2 separate regions of the Homo sapiens genome follow, and region 1 is linked to region 2. The links are contacts of gene promoters, found by promoter capture Hi-C in blood cells and fetal thymus (Javierre and others, 2016). All regions are on one chromosome and are shown on one strand. Each heading gives the region's core, a stretch centred on a gene start or on the middle of the fragment in contact. The rest is flanking DNA. Distances are from core to core; before and after follow the strand shown.

Region 1 (6,271 bases), core at 1,815-4,314, 1.1 Mb before region 2:
ACTTCCGTTTTTGCTCTTAAGGCCTTCGACTGATCAGATGAGGCCCATTCACATTACTGAGGATAATTTCTAACACTTAAAGTCAACTGATTTTAGTTGTTACCTACATATATAAAATACCTTCACAGCAAGTTACTGGGTACCATAGCCTAGCCAAGTTGATACATAAACTAACCATCACAGGATCTCTTATGTGTTTTTAAGTCAGATGTGAGAGCTGCAGTCTTCTGAAGCCTCCACTGGGCTGGACATCCAAGATGACTCATTCTCATGGTCATTGCTCACTCCACATTGGTGGCTAATGCTGGCAGTCAGCTGGGAGCTTAGCTAGGGCTGTTGAACGGCACGCTTACCTGATCTGTCTCCAGCATGGTGGCTGGGTTCTAAGAGGGAGTGTCCCAAGAGCCAGCATTCCAATAAACAAGAAATGGAAGCTGCTTGGCCAGTTAACACCCACACTGGAATTAGTACAATGTCATTTTCACTGTTCTATTGGTCAAAACAGTCACAGGGCCCATCCAGATTCAAAGGGTGGAAAACTAAGTCCCACTTCTTGATGGGAGAGTGGCACAGTCAATTGCAAAAGAACACGTGGGCTGGGAGATACAGACACAGCTGTTTTTGGAAAACACAATGGGACTCACCATTTCCATGCACATCGGCCCACCCTCCAACTGCCAGCATCTATGACCCTTTACCTAGGGTCTTTCTTTGGCCAATGTCTTCTTCACCTCCTGTAAGGCAACTCTACAGTGTGGGCAAATAATGCCCACCCCAGAAGTCCTCAACCAATAATAGGATGGTACAATTCCCTTGTCCCTCAAGCAGGCGTCTACACTGCCTCCCAGGGTTTCTCTAGTAGTATTAAGTTCCAGTTGCAATAAAATGGTAACTTGCTTGGTAATTCACTCTGTATTGCTCCCTCCCCTTCCCTGTTTCTTTTCCCTACTTCCCCTACTGTGTTGCTTCCTGAGATCACCTCCTGAAAAATATATTTGCACTCATCTTTGGCTCAGGGCTGACTTCTAGGGGAACCCAACTAAAATAAGAGAGTGACTTGTTCAAGGTCACAGAGCTATAACTAAGGGCTGAACTGACCCCTAGTCAAGAGTGCTTTCCAAATTTGCTACATTCTGACAAAGCTTCAGAGAATTAAAGTGTTCAATCTTATTTAGTGATAGGGAGGGCCTATGAAAAAGAACAAATTAAATGTTTGTGTTAGCTATTATTTGGAGAGAGGACTGGACTAGGAGTCAGGAAATGTGGGTTCTTGCTTTTGCTCTAGTGGTGAACAAGTTCCATAACTTGAGCCTCAGGAGTGGAGATAAATTCTCATCTCGAATTCACACTTTTAGCATTTCAGTGAGCATCAAATGGGTGATCATGCAAAAACAGTACAATGAAGAAAATAGGCAAATGAGTGAAAGGAATTATTTTTTCCCATTTTTGGTGACTCTACTCAATAAAACCTTATGTTTTAATTTTTTTCAAAAGCTTCTCATGTAATCTTGAAGTACACGATTGCCAAGTTCACCAAACCATGTTGTCTGGATAATTCAGGTTATGTTCAAAATCTCCAGTTTTAAAACAAAGTCTTCAGATACAATTTTTTAGCCAATGGCCCACTTTTACCAGAAAAAGCTCCTGGCATTGAAAGCCATCTCTCAGTCCCTGACAACAAATGTCCTTGTCACTGCAGAGCATACGTAGGCATGAACTGCCTGGATAAAGATAGTCAATATATTTTTCACCGTTGGCTTATGAAAAAATATCACATCCATATTATGGCATTTCCCCCTCTGCACTAGCTTCTTTAGGATGTATGAATTTCACCTAGCAGTATGTGTGTGTGTTGAGTTTTGATACCCATCTCTTTGTGTGTTAGTGGACAGAGTAGAAAAATGCAGACAACAGATTAACAGAAGAGAAAATAACTCATGAGCGGTCTTGGACACATTTAATATTATCAATGATATTCTGCGATAAAACATAAGCGGGGGTAGTATTTATGTACTTATTGGCTTACTAAATTGATCACATTTTCTGGTGGAAAAGTTAAATGCAATTTAGCTGCAGAGGATTTGGAACATGCCCCAGTTTGGTATTTGTTTATACTTTATATTTTAAAAAGGGAAAACAACTTGATTTAATCTCTGATTTGTGTAGAAAACTTGGCTTGCCAACTTATTGAAATTCACAGCTCTTGCCCAGAGGAACTGGTCTTCCGCTAAAAACTAGCCTTGGTTTATGCTAAGGTGGCAAAAGACTTAATTTGGGAATTACATTTCTTCCAAAGACTAATTTCAAACTAGGTATATATATTTTTAAGTTGGTTTGCAGATTCACATCTACACCACCTCTTCCAGAGTTGGGGGATGTTTTCCCTCTTGTTTATCGTTTTGCTGGTGTGAATGCTGAGAATTAATTACTCTCCTTTGTAACACTAAGACAACTTTTAATGATCATTTGTTTCTTCTATTGTATGGAATGAAATCATAAGAAGTTTCATTTAATTGGTTTATTCATTTAAAGAGATTCCTTTAATTGAAATAGAGAAAAGGAAAAATAAAACCCTAGAAAATAAAACCAGGTTCTAACCACTCCAGGGCGAAACGCGTAAATCATTTTAAAAATGAATACCCCAAATTAAGAATTTAATTTTTAAAACTCTTTATGTCTCTCTCTCCACATTTGTAGTATGTGAAAGGCAAGAGAGACCCTTTGAATCAGGGAAAAGTTATTCTTTGAAATGACATCGGTGATCTGATTCCCTCTGTATTTCAACCGCATTAACTTCACACCGTCCACACTGGGCAATGAAGATGCTCAGAGTCAGGTCAAATTCACCCTCCTGAAAAACTGCAAATTAAGATGCTGTTGATTACACATCACCGGCTGTCTTAATCATCGTGATCAAAATCCAAATATTAAGGAAAGTGGCCTGGGAGGGTTACGTTTGGGCTTTTGACAGACCCTCAACCAAACTCTGACGCCCAGCCTGCGCGTTTCCACATCTTTTTCCAGGCAAGAGGCTCCACCAGCCCGCGTGGGGCTCGCAGTGTTTCTCTAGAGTGGCTAGACATCCCCCAGCCCCCAAACCCAGACACACCCCGACCCCCGCGAATGGTTCTGGGCTGTCAAAACACGCGGCGGCGTGTTCAGTCCCAATAACTCGCGTGATGATTAATGAGCAGCTTGATAATTTAATATCGCGTGTGATTAAATTATAAGGCGTGGGGGAGGGGAGCTCTGCGCCACCTCGGCAGCCCCGCCGACGCCGACCAGCTAACCGGACTGGGCTGCGCGCGGAGCCCCCTCTTCCCGTGCACAGTGCGGGGCGAGGCTTGGCGAGCGGTGGGTCTGCGCCTTCCCAAGGTCAGTGGGTCTGGAGAGGGGAGGACGGCGGGACTGGGGGTGGCGGAAGGGATGTCTTGCAGAGAGGAGGAGAGGTGTGGGCTCAGGGTAGCTCTGGTCTGAGCCGATGAGCAGGGCGAGTCATCGACTCTTTCCCCGGCAAAGGCGCGTGGAAGGCTGGAAAATGGCCTCAGGCAAGGGAAGATTTGTTTTTAAAAATTCCTCTTTTCTCTGCCACGGGGGCTTAGAGAGTCCCTAGGATTCGGAGACCCCTGGGGGGAAGGGGCGCCCCTCTGAGTCTCTCTCTGGATCCCATCCCCCCGACCCCGCCCCGCGCCTTGACTTTGTGGGGTTTCCCCGCAGGCCGGGCCGAGGTGGCGGTCGGGTTGGGCCACCCCAAGCCCCTTCTTTTCCCCAGCCCGCAGAGCCCGGCCTTGCCTAGTGCTCGGCGGGGTTCAGGCAGGTCCGGGGGAAGAGGGAGTGGATGAAGCCTGCGAGAGCCGGAAGCTGCGGGGAGGCAGAGAGACGCCCGCAAAACTCTAGGCGCAGAGTCTCCGGGGTTTCCAGCCGGATTCCTAGGGGAGGCGCGAAAACCCGATCTAAACTGAGGTTACTGGAGGGACTCCTGGCCGGCACTCTTTTCTCCTGAAGAGGTCGTTTAGGGGGGCTCAGGCGTGGCCACTCCTTCCCCTGGAAGAAGTGTGAGCGCAGGGCCCTCGCCGGGTGAGGGGGCCGGCGGCGCTCACACTGTCCCTGCCGCCGCGGCACAGTCCTGCCCCGGCCCAGGTAGGCGGTTGCTTTTGCTGCTATGCAGAGCCAGGTCTGCTCCGGGGGCTGCAGCCTCAGAGGGGTACCTCGAGAAACCACTTGCGGGACACAGGGAGAGTCGCCTCTTATTCCATGGCTCTGTCGAAGGGCTGAACTTTTAGCCCGAGGAGGGCAGGCCCTCGACAGGTAGGGATGTCCCCAGAAGACCCTAGGAAACAACACCTTGGGGTGGGGGGCGGGGGACGGGGGGGTTGTTCAGACCCAGAGCGGGAGGGTGAAAATTAAAGCGTCCTGACCAGGGCTCCAGAGGGCTCGGCGTCCAGGCTGTGCTGGCTGGATTTTCAGCTGGGAAATGGCATTCGAAAGGGGACCCGGTGGGCTGAACCCAGGCTGCCCGCTTTCCTTCACCCAGAGAGGCCCTGCAGAGCGCCAGAACGGCGCGCCTGGTGTCCGGTGCTTCGGGCTCCAGGTGCAGTGGCCGAACCTTCCTCCTAGACAAAGATGGAAGCTTCCTAGGTTGGGCTCCTTGGATATGCAGCCATGACCATTTCTCTCCCAGCTTCTCCAGATATTTGGAGGTAACACCAAGGAAGGGGAAAATCATGAACAACCAAATGGGCTTGTAAACAGAGGTCACAGTATAGAAAAAATATATGAGTGTGTGTGTACGCGCCTGTGTGTCTGTGTGTCTGTCTGTGTGTGTCCTCTCAAAACACCCAGAGAGAATATGTAAACAAAACCTGCCTAGCTAGAGCAGAAACAAGCCACAAATTGGTTCTAGGAGGCTCAGCCTGAAATGCCCCAAATTAGCAGAGGATGTAGGTTGTGACTGCAATTCCAGGATATTTGGAACACACAAAACCCTTCTTAGGAAAAAAAACAGTAAGTCAGGGGTTGGAGGGTGGGGGGCAGAGGAGAAGTGCTCCGAAGCTGCCCCGCGTCCTGGGCCCCCAGCGGCTGCAGACCTGGTTGCATCTTTCTCCAGGGGCCGCACCTCTCTGTCCTGGCCCAAAGGCCCTGAGAGGAGGCCACTCCCCTCAAGGTGAGTTAGTGGTAACTAAAGAGGATTTATGGACAAGGCTGTTGCTTGCGGCCGCCTCTGCAGCCGGAGTCATTTTAAGGAGAAGCAGCCTCTGATATTACTGCTGACGCTCCACCTCGGGGTACTGACCTGACCAAAGGCCAACGCTCTGGTTCCCGCATGCCGCTTTTGTCCTTGTTATGAAAATCATTCCTTAAATTTGCTCCTCATCTGTGCTGCTCTCAGACACAAACTGACCCCCTTATATCTGGTGCCACCAAAAATAGTGGCTGGGCCCAAGGAGAACAATTTAAAAGCCCAGGACTAACCTGTTTCTCCCAAAGGTACCACACCTAATTACAGCATTAATAGTGTGCGCCTGGTGGACGCATTATATTTCCCAGGAATTACATTTGTTTTCCAGAAGCTGGACTGGGAAGGTCCTAGACAGAAGTGAGTCCTTGGAAGAAAGGACTGAGCGTCTCAGTAATGACATGGAGGTGGGGAGGGGGTGGGATAAGGGACTCCAAACTGGGTTGTATTTCCCAGATTATCGTCAGTCTGCTGCGTGACTGATGCCAGGAGACTAACAATTCCCAAAGTTGCGAAAGGAAAAACAGTTAGTCTTATACCCCCGTCCACAAGATCACTCAAGTCTAATGATTTCGGACACCTGCAAGATGAGTCGATCAGTGACGCGTGGGGTGGCATTGTTCGCTCGACGTGCCAGGACGCCAGCGGTGCTACCTTTTCCTGTCTCCAGAGCGCGAGTTGGCGCACATTGATTTCACCCCTCGCTCTCCGCCCCGCTGCCGAACACCATTTAGGCCAAGATCGGGTATAATGGGAAACACCATCAGCAGACAATTACCCTTTCAGAGGATTCACTTCTCCTCACAGACACTGTTATTTGAGAAATAGGATCATTTGATTTCATATTGCACTAAATAACACCCAGCCGGTTCAAATTGCCAGCTTCTTAAAAACCGCCCATTGGAATAAATTGCATCGGCCTCTTTTGCTTTTCAGGGCAATATGATGGGCACCGGGCAGAACTTGGAAAAATAACTACAAAGCCAGCCCCGAGCCGTGGCTATTGGTAGGGACAGCCCTGCCACCCCGCAGGCA
Region 2 (6,843 bases), core at 2,647-5,146:
TCTAACAATAGAATTGGAAAAACATTGAAAGGAATTATTTACGGATTCAGGGTCCTCTTATATTTAATCGGCCACGATGGCATGTGGTGAAGAGTTACTGGGGAAATACTGACAGCTGCTGCCTATGTTCTTAATAGAGTTCTCCAAACTGGAGCCCTGAAGGTCAGCAGTCTTGAGACATATTTTGAGACCAAAAAAGTTCTGTGGTTAAGTGTAGGAAATGCTCGCAATAGGCTTCCTGAAGGGCCACCAGGCCCATTAACATCTTTGAGAGGTTCCATAATAAAGCAACTTGTTTTCTTTGTATAACCCAGCCTTTCCGACACTCTTTGGGAAGAGAATCTCTAATGACGGCAACAGTGGAGAACCTAACGTTCCAGAAGGACACTTTGGGAAATGCTGTTGACAAAAACAGTAGGTCACAAAATGATTTCAATTTCTCTCTCATTGTCTCAATTTCTGTAAGTCTCTCTTCTCTCTTTCCCTCCCTTCTTTCCTTCATAGGGAAAGCCATTTTATTATATACTAGCCAGTGAGCTCAAAACAGGGAAAACAATGAAGGAGAAATTAATAATGTCTAGACTCCTATCGAAGCTAACCATAAATATTGTCATTCCTTGTTCTGGTTTTAAATTGAAAGCAAAATTGGAATGAGACATCTTGTTTGTGAAACATATCATAAACTAATGCTACAAGTATATAAAAATTCTGAATAAAATAAGGAAGTATAATTAATTAGATAACTGACTTTGGTAAAAAGAAAACAAGAAAAGAAGAAAGAAAGCGAGCGAGGGAAATTCTCCAACCAGGTGGCAATGATGTGAGCCGATCTGACACAGGTTTTGGGGATAGAATGGACCTCACTCCAAACAGAGAATTAAAAATTAAACCATGCATCTACCTGGGACTTTGGATGGGCCCCTCGGTAAGTGAGGGGGCTAGAAAAATTAAACTCACCAGCCCAAGAAAGTGACAAGCTTTCTCTACACAAAGCTCTAGGTAGAAAATAAAGCAAAAATACTGCTGAGAAGTCCAAATTCTAGACTAAAGTGGGTATGGCATTCTAGTCCACACAATCTGTGTATTATGGGAGTCACCAAGAACTTTAGATGATAGACTCTGAAACAGACTACAAACTAAGTATGTTTATAATAAAGAAATATAGAAAGAGAAACAAAAGTCATGAGAAGAGAACAGGTCATTATTTAAAAAAGAACAGAAACTTAAAAAATGAAATACGTGGTTATTAAAATTTAAACTAAGAGGATGGGTTAAAAACAGAAGAATAAAGAAAATAAACTGGAAGATACTTATGAACAAATTATCTAGAAAGAAGCACATAGAAACAGAAAATACAGAATTCAGTAAAGACACATGTAAGACAGAATGAAAAACATCTGTCTTATGGGAATTCCAAAAGGAATAAATGAAACATTTGAAAATAATGGCTAATTACTTTTAGCATGGATGAAAGACATGAACCTTCAGTTCAGAGCAAAAAATACAAATAAACTCCAAATATATAGTAAAACTACAAAACCCTAAAGACAAACAGAAAACTTTAAAGGAACCTGACAAAAGACAGACTGTCTATAAAAAATAATTAGACTGACAGAATATTTCTCATGAGCAACATTAGAAGCCAGTAGCACGGGGGTTAGCAAACTTCTGTAAAAGGCCAGAGAATAAATACATTAAGCTTTATGAGCCACATGTTGTCTACACAACTAGTCAACTCTGCCATTGTAGCACAGTAACAACCAGAGACAATATCGGCACAAATGAGCATGAATGTATTCCCACAAAATTTTACTTACATACACTGAAAGTTGACTTATGTATAATTTTCATGTGCCATGTAATTTTTAAAAAATGTTTAAAATGTAAACTACATATAAAGTTTAATGTAAAATGTGTGTGTGTATATGTGTATGTATGTGTGTGTGTATATATATATATATATATCCCTAGCTCATTCACAGTCCATACAAAATAGTCAATGGGCTGAATTTAGTCTACGGCCCATAGTTTTCTAACTACTAGAATAGTGTTTTAAAAATATAAAAGGAAAAAATAACCATTAACCTAGACTGATAAACCTAAACAATCACTTTAAAATGAAGATAAAATAAAGACAATTTCATACAAAGACTGAAAGAATTCAAAGAATCTTGTAGAAAGAACTAGGAGATGGTATATTCTGAGAAGAATAAAATCAGAAAGAAGTGGAATACAAGATTAAATGCTGGGAAATAAGAAGGTAAACATGAAGGTATATCTACAAAAGCATTGATGGCAAAAAGTAAGAAGGATAATACATTTTTCCTAAAAAAAAAAAAAAAAAAAAACAAACAAAAAAAACACACACAGAGATGAACTGAATTGCCAGACAACAGAAATGTAAGAGAGAAGGATGGTGATCAGAAGCAAAGTATTCTAGCATGTTTGTACTTTTGAGCAAAGGCAACAGATGATTAAACCAATGATTCATTTGGTAAATCAATTGTTTACAGTAACACATTTAAGGAAAATCACTTCAAAGAAACATCTTTTTAATATTTATTTATTTTGTTAGGTGGCTTTATGAAAGTGATATAAAATCTTCTCTATTTAAATTTTGAAAAGTGAGATAAAATATCTAAATAATATGGTTAATAAAGAGTTATGGCAAATACATTGATGTTGGTTATAACTGACTGCAGTTCTAGAAATCTGCATAAATCTTTTGTTGAAAGTAATATCTGCATTGGTAGACGTGATATTACTACATACATAAATATATATTTTCCCCAAACACCAAAAGAGCTTTGCAACTGTGGAAATTATCCTAACAAATGAGCTGCCAAGTCATGTCATTATACATTTGTCCAACCTCATAGAATGTACACCAAGAGTGAACCCTAATATAAACTATGAACTTTGGGTGATAATGATGTGTCAATGTAGGTTCAAGATTGTAACAAATGTACTGCTCTGGTGGAGGATATTTTTAAGAGTTGGAGGCTGTTAGAGGAGGGAAGAGGTACAATAATTGATAGCAGGAAGCTGTGGAGGGAGGAAATCTCTGTGTCTTCCACTTAATTTTGTTGTGAACCTAAAACTTCTCTAAAAATGTCTATTAAAAAAAATTCTCTTAACCTTTGCTTTTCAGTTTTTGAGGGCAGGTTAAGTATTATAACAGCTAACATCTACTGAGCATTTGTCTTTAATCCTAGTGAAACAGATGTTATTAGCCTTGTTTTATAGTTGAGGACATTGAGGCTAAGAAAATTTAACTAGAGTAATTAAGGCACACACAGAATTTAAACATGTTTCTTATCACAAGACTGAGTTGTTTTCCAGTTACTCTATTTATATTTTTTCCTAATATCTGGCTTCAAAGTACCTTCTGTTATTTTTAATTCCAAGCCTTAGAGTTAATTATTTGGGCACCTTAGAATTATTTGGGCACAACTGTCCCGAAACCAGAAACGAGGGGGCGTGGACCCAGAGACTACTAGAATGCAATGCTCGAGGCATTGCAGCCTAAAAGGGCGGCAGCTCGCCCCGTCGCATGCTGGGAATGGTAGTTTCCTCGCTCTCCCTTCTTCCCCCGCCCTCGAGCATCCAGATTGGAGCTCCGTTCTTACTCCCTTGCAGGGCGCCACGGCTCGACAGAGCCACTCGTCCTCGCCTGGTCATCCCAGTTCCGGAGGCTGACCTGGGGATGCGCCCTGGACGCCCTGCACCGCAGTCCTTGCGTCGCTGCTAGTCAGCACGGCGTTACCCACCTCATCCGCAGCTCCAGGACGCCGCACTCCACGCGCTGCCGCAAGGAGGACGCGCAGCCTGGTCACCATGGAAACGGTGCCGCCTCCGTCACGGCTCAAGCGAGAGGTCAAAGGTCAGTCCTGCAAGTTCCGCTTCCGGTTCCGAGATCCTGTTTGTTTTCTGAAAGCTTTGTGGTTTCGGTGAGCTCTCAGAGCCGATTTCTAGCGTCCGTGCCGGGGACAGGTGTCCAGAGGTCGACTGCTGCAGACATGGCGGCCTCCACCGCGGCCGGGAAGCAGCGGATTCCCAAAGTGGCCAAGGTAGGCGATCGCGAGGGGCCTTGTAGGAGGTGGCCTAGGAAAGGGGCATCCCTCAGCCCTGAGGGTGCCCGGGTTGGGAGAGAGTGTTCCCGCCGGGGAGAAGGCTCACCCTGAGAGATGGAGAGGAAGGGCAGCTGGTGGTGGGGCGCGGGCTCTTGTCATCGCGGAGCACGACCCGCGTTGGCGTGGCCTTCGTTCTGGGGTGGTTTTGCTGGGGAGTGGAGTGGGGTGGTTCGGTGAAGATTTACTGAGCCAGGCACTGCACTGGGCGCTGGGAAGCTACGCTCGTACGCTGGCCACAAGCAGTACTCAAAACACGAGTTTCTGTATAAAGACGACCTTGCTAGATGTTACCGAGAGGCAAAGTAGAATATGCCATGGGCGTGAATAAGGGGGTCGTATGAAGGGGTCCTGAAAGTAAATTTTGCTGAGGAAATGACCTTTAAGCTGAGACTTGAAGGCTGAATAGGAGTTAGCCCAGCTGACAGCGGAGGGCGAGAGTAGACGGTAGGAGTAGTATAGTATCATAAGTTAATTAAACAGTAGACTTACTATCTGGTATTTCCTTTGATAGCTAATACTTACCAAGTGCTTAATATGTGGCAGACTTTGAAGCCTTTACAGATACCCTCCCTCCAGTCTTTCTTGAGCCCGGATGACTCTCTTGAACTGGACCTTTACATAACTATTTGTCTGACTCGCAGGAGTAATGCATATAGAGCAAGTAACACTGTGTCTGGCACTTAGTGCTTATTAAATATGAGCTATCACCATTATCATCATTACTCCACATGTGGCATTAAGTAACATTTTTTATAATTCAGCTACATAAACTTTTATTGGGCATCACTGGTCCAATGGAAATATAATGCACACCACATATGAAATTTTAAATTTTCTCATATCTACATTAAAAAGTAAAAACAAAGCAAAAAAGTGAAATTAATTTTGATAATATATATTTTATTTGAGCTAATGTATCCAAAATATTATCATTTCAACATGTAATCGGTATAAAAAATGTAATGAGGTAGTTTATTCTTTTTTATACTTCATCTTCAAAACCAATGTGTATTTTACACTTACAGTCCACCTCAATTTGTACTCACCACATGTGACTCATAGCTACTGTGTTGGACAGCACAGCTCTAAGCTACGTTAGACTGTAAGCTTCTAAGACCTCAAGAAGCTTACAGTCTAATGATGAGAACTTACTGAAATTGCCTTTGACTTGAAGTGCCATGTAAAACCAAACCCAGTTATACACCGGGGCATTAAATAAGTTGAAGAATTCTGTAAATGCAGGTTGTAATGCTGTTAATAAGATGTGCTACACATTTTGATAAAACAAAACCTCTGGTCAGAATTTTACCTAGACGGCCTCAAAGTTTATTATTATACTCATCTAAAAGGGAAAACTTGCTATTATTTTTGCCACCTTTTTCTCTTGAGACTTTTACCTATGGCTTTGCAGTAGATACTATGAATAAGAGAGAAAACGGTATTTTTTTTTTCTTTTCAGTCTCATGGAGGAATGGGAACATGTCATACAAAAAGGGCATCTTGTGATAATACTAACAAAGTTCATATCCTAAAAAATGTATGTTTGTTTCTTAAGCCTTGTGTGAAGAGCAACTACTAAAAATAGAAATGTCTTCTTTCTTAAAAGGTGAAAAACAAAGCCCCGGCTGAGGTACAGATAACTGCTGAACAACTCTTAAGAGAGGCTAAAGAAAGAGAACTTGAGCTTCTTCCACCTCCACCTCAACAGAAGATCACAGATGAAGAAGAATTAAATGATTATAAACTAAGGAAAAGGAAGGTCAGTCAGTGTGGTATCTTTCAGTCCACTAATTGTTAAGACTGTATCGGTCAGTTTGAAAAGCTCCTCATTGGTTGGATTCTGTAGGGCAAGATGAGGTTAAGTGTTTCCAGACGCATGAATAATGTACTTCTGGTTACCAGATAACAGCATTTTTCTGAACTATATAAAATATGCCATGAGTTGTCTGGTTAAAGTGTAAAGAAATTGAATCTGCATAATTTTTGATGCTGAATCAAAGTGAGCGGAAGTTTAGCAGATGGAACAACTGACAACAAGAAGGAGGGTATGCTTAGTAAGGCTGCACTGTGTACTTCTGTCTATACCACCTTCTGTGTTAAGAATTGAGATCTGGCTGGGCACAGTGGCTCGCGCCTGTAATCCCAACACTTTGGGAGGCCGAGGCGGGCAGATCACCTGAGGTCAGGAGTTTGAGACCAGCCTAGCCAACATGGTGAAACCCCATCTCTACTAAAATACAAAAATTAGCCAGGCGTGGTGGCAGGTGCCTGTAATCCCAGCTATTCGGGAGGCTGAGACATGAGAATCACAGCAACTCGGGAGGCAGAGGCTGCAGTGAGCCGAGATCGTGCCACTGCACTCCAGCCTGGGCGACAGAGCAAGACTTTGTCTCAAAAAAAAAAAAAGAAAGAAAGAAAGAAAGGAAAAGGAATTGAGGTCTGCAAAAGGACCATGAGAAGACTTTGGGATCTGATTTGACCTCTTCACTCTAGAATGTGGGACTGTTTTAAAGCACTAATGCTGTTATATATGAAATTCTGAGAATTACCAGAGGACTTAAAGGTAATAGTCAAAAACATTTTTTATTAGGGACAAGCATAGACCATTTTAAAGTATCAGTTAGTTGACTGTAACCTTCTGTAGTGGGTTTCTTATTCCTCAAGGATTCCAGGATGTAATTTCTCTTAAATATGAACAAAATGAATAACC

The links. The method cuts DNA at HindIII sites, captures the fragments that hold promoters and counts their contacts. A CHiCAGO score of 5 or more calls a contact.
Region 1: a contact is called between a fragment that was not itself captured here and the fragment with the promoter of CRNKL1 in region 2, in 1 of 17 cell types (activated CD4 T cells). The highest score is 5.8, in activated CD4 T cells.

What each region holds. Positions count from the first base shown.
Region 1 is chr20:21,103,375-21,109,645 of GRCh38, reverse strand. LINC00237 (long intergenic non-protein coding RNA 237) reads left to right here and starts at 3,288. Exons shown (of 2, transcript NR_190203.1): 1 at 3,288-3,375. The HindIII fragment of the contact is 3,136 bases long and covers 1,497-4,632 here.
Region 2 is chr20:20,049,519-20,056,361 of GRCh38, reverse strand. It overlaps CRNKL1 (crooked neck pre-mRNA splicing factor 1), which reads left to right and starts at 3,896. Exons shown (of 14, transcript NM_001278628.2): 1 at 3,896-4,070; 2 at 5,740-5,892. The coding sequence starts at 4,020. CFAP61 (cilia and flagella associated protein 61) reads right to left here and starts at 3,830. Exons shown (of 27, transcript NM_015585.4): 1 at 3,771-3,830. RefSeq lists a silencer at 3,422-3,471 and enhancers at 3,562-3,861, 3,872-4,041. The HindIII fragment of the contact is 2,238 bases long and covers 1,702-3,939 here.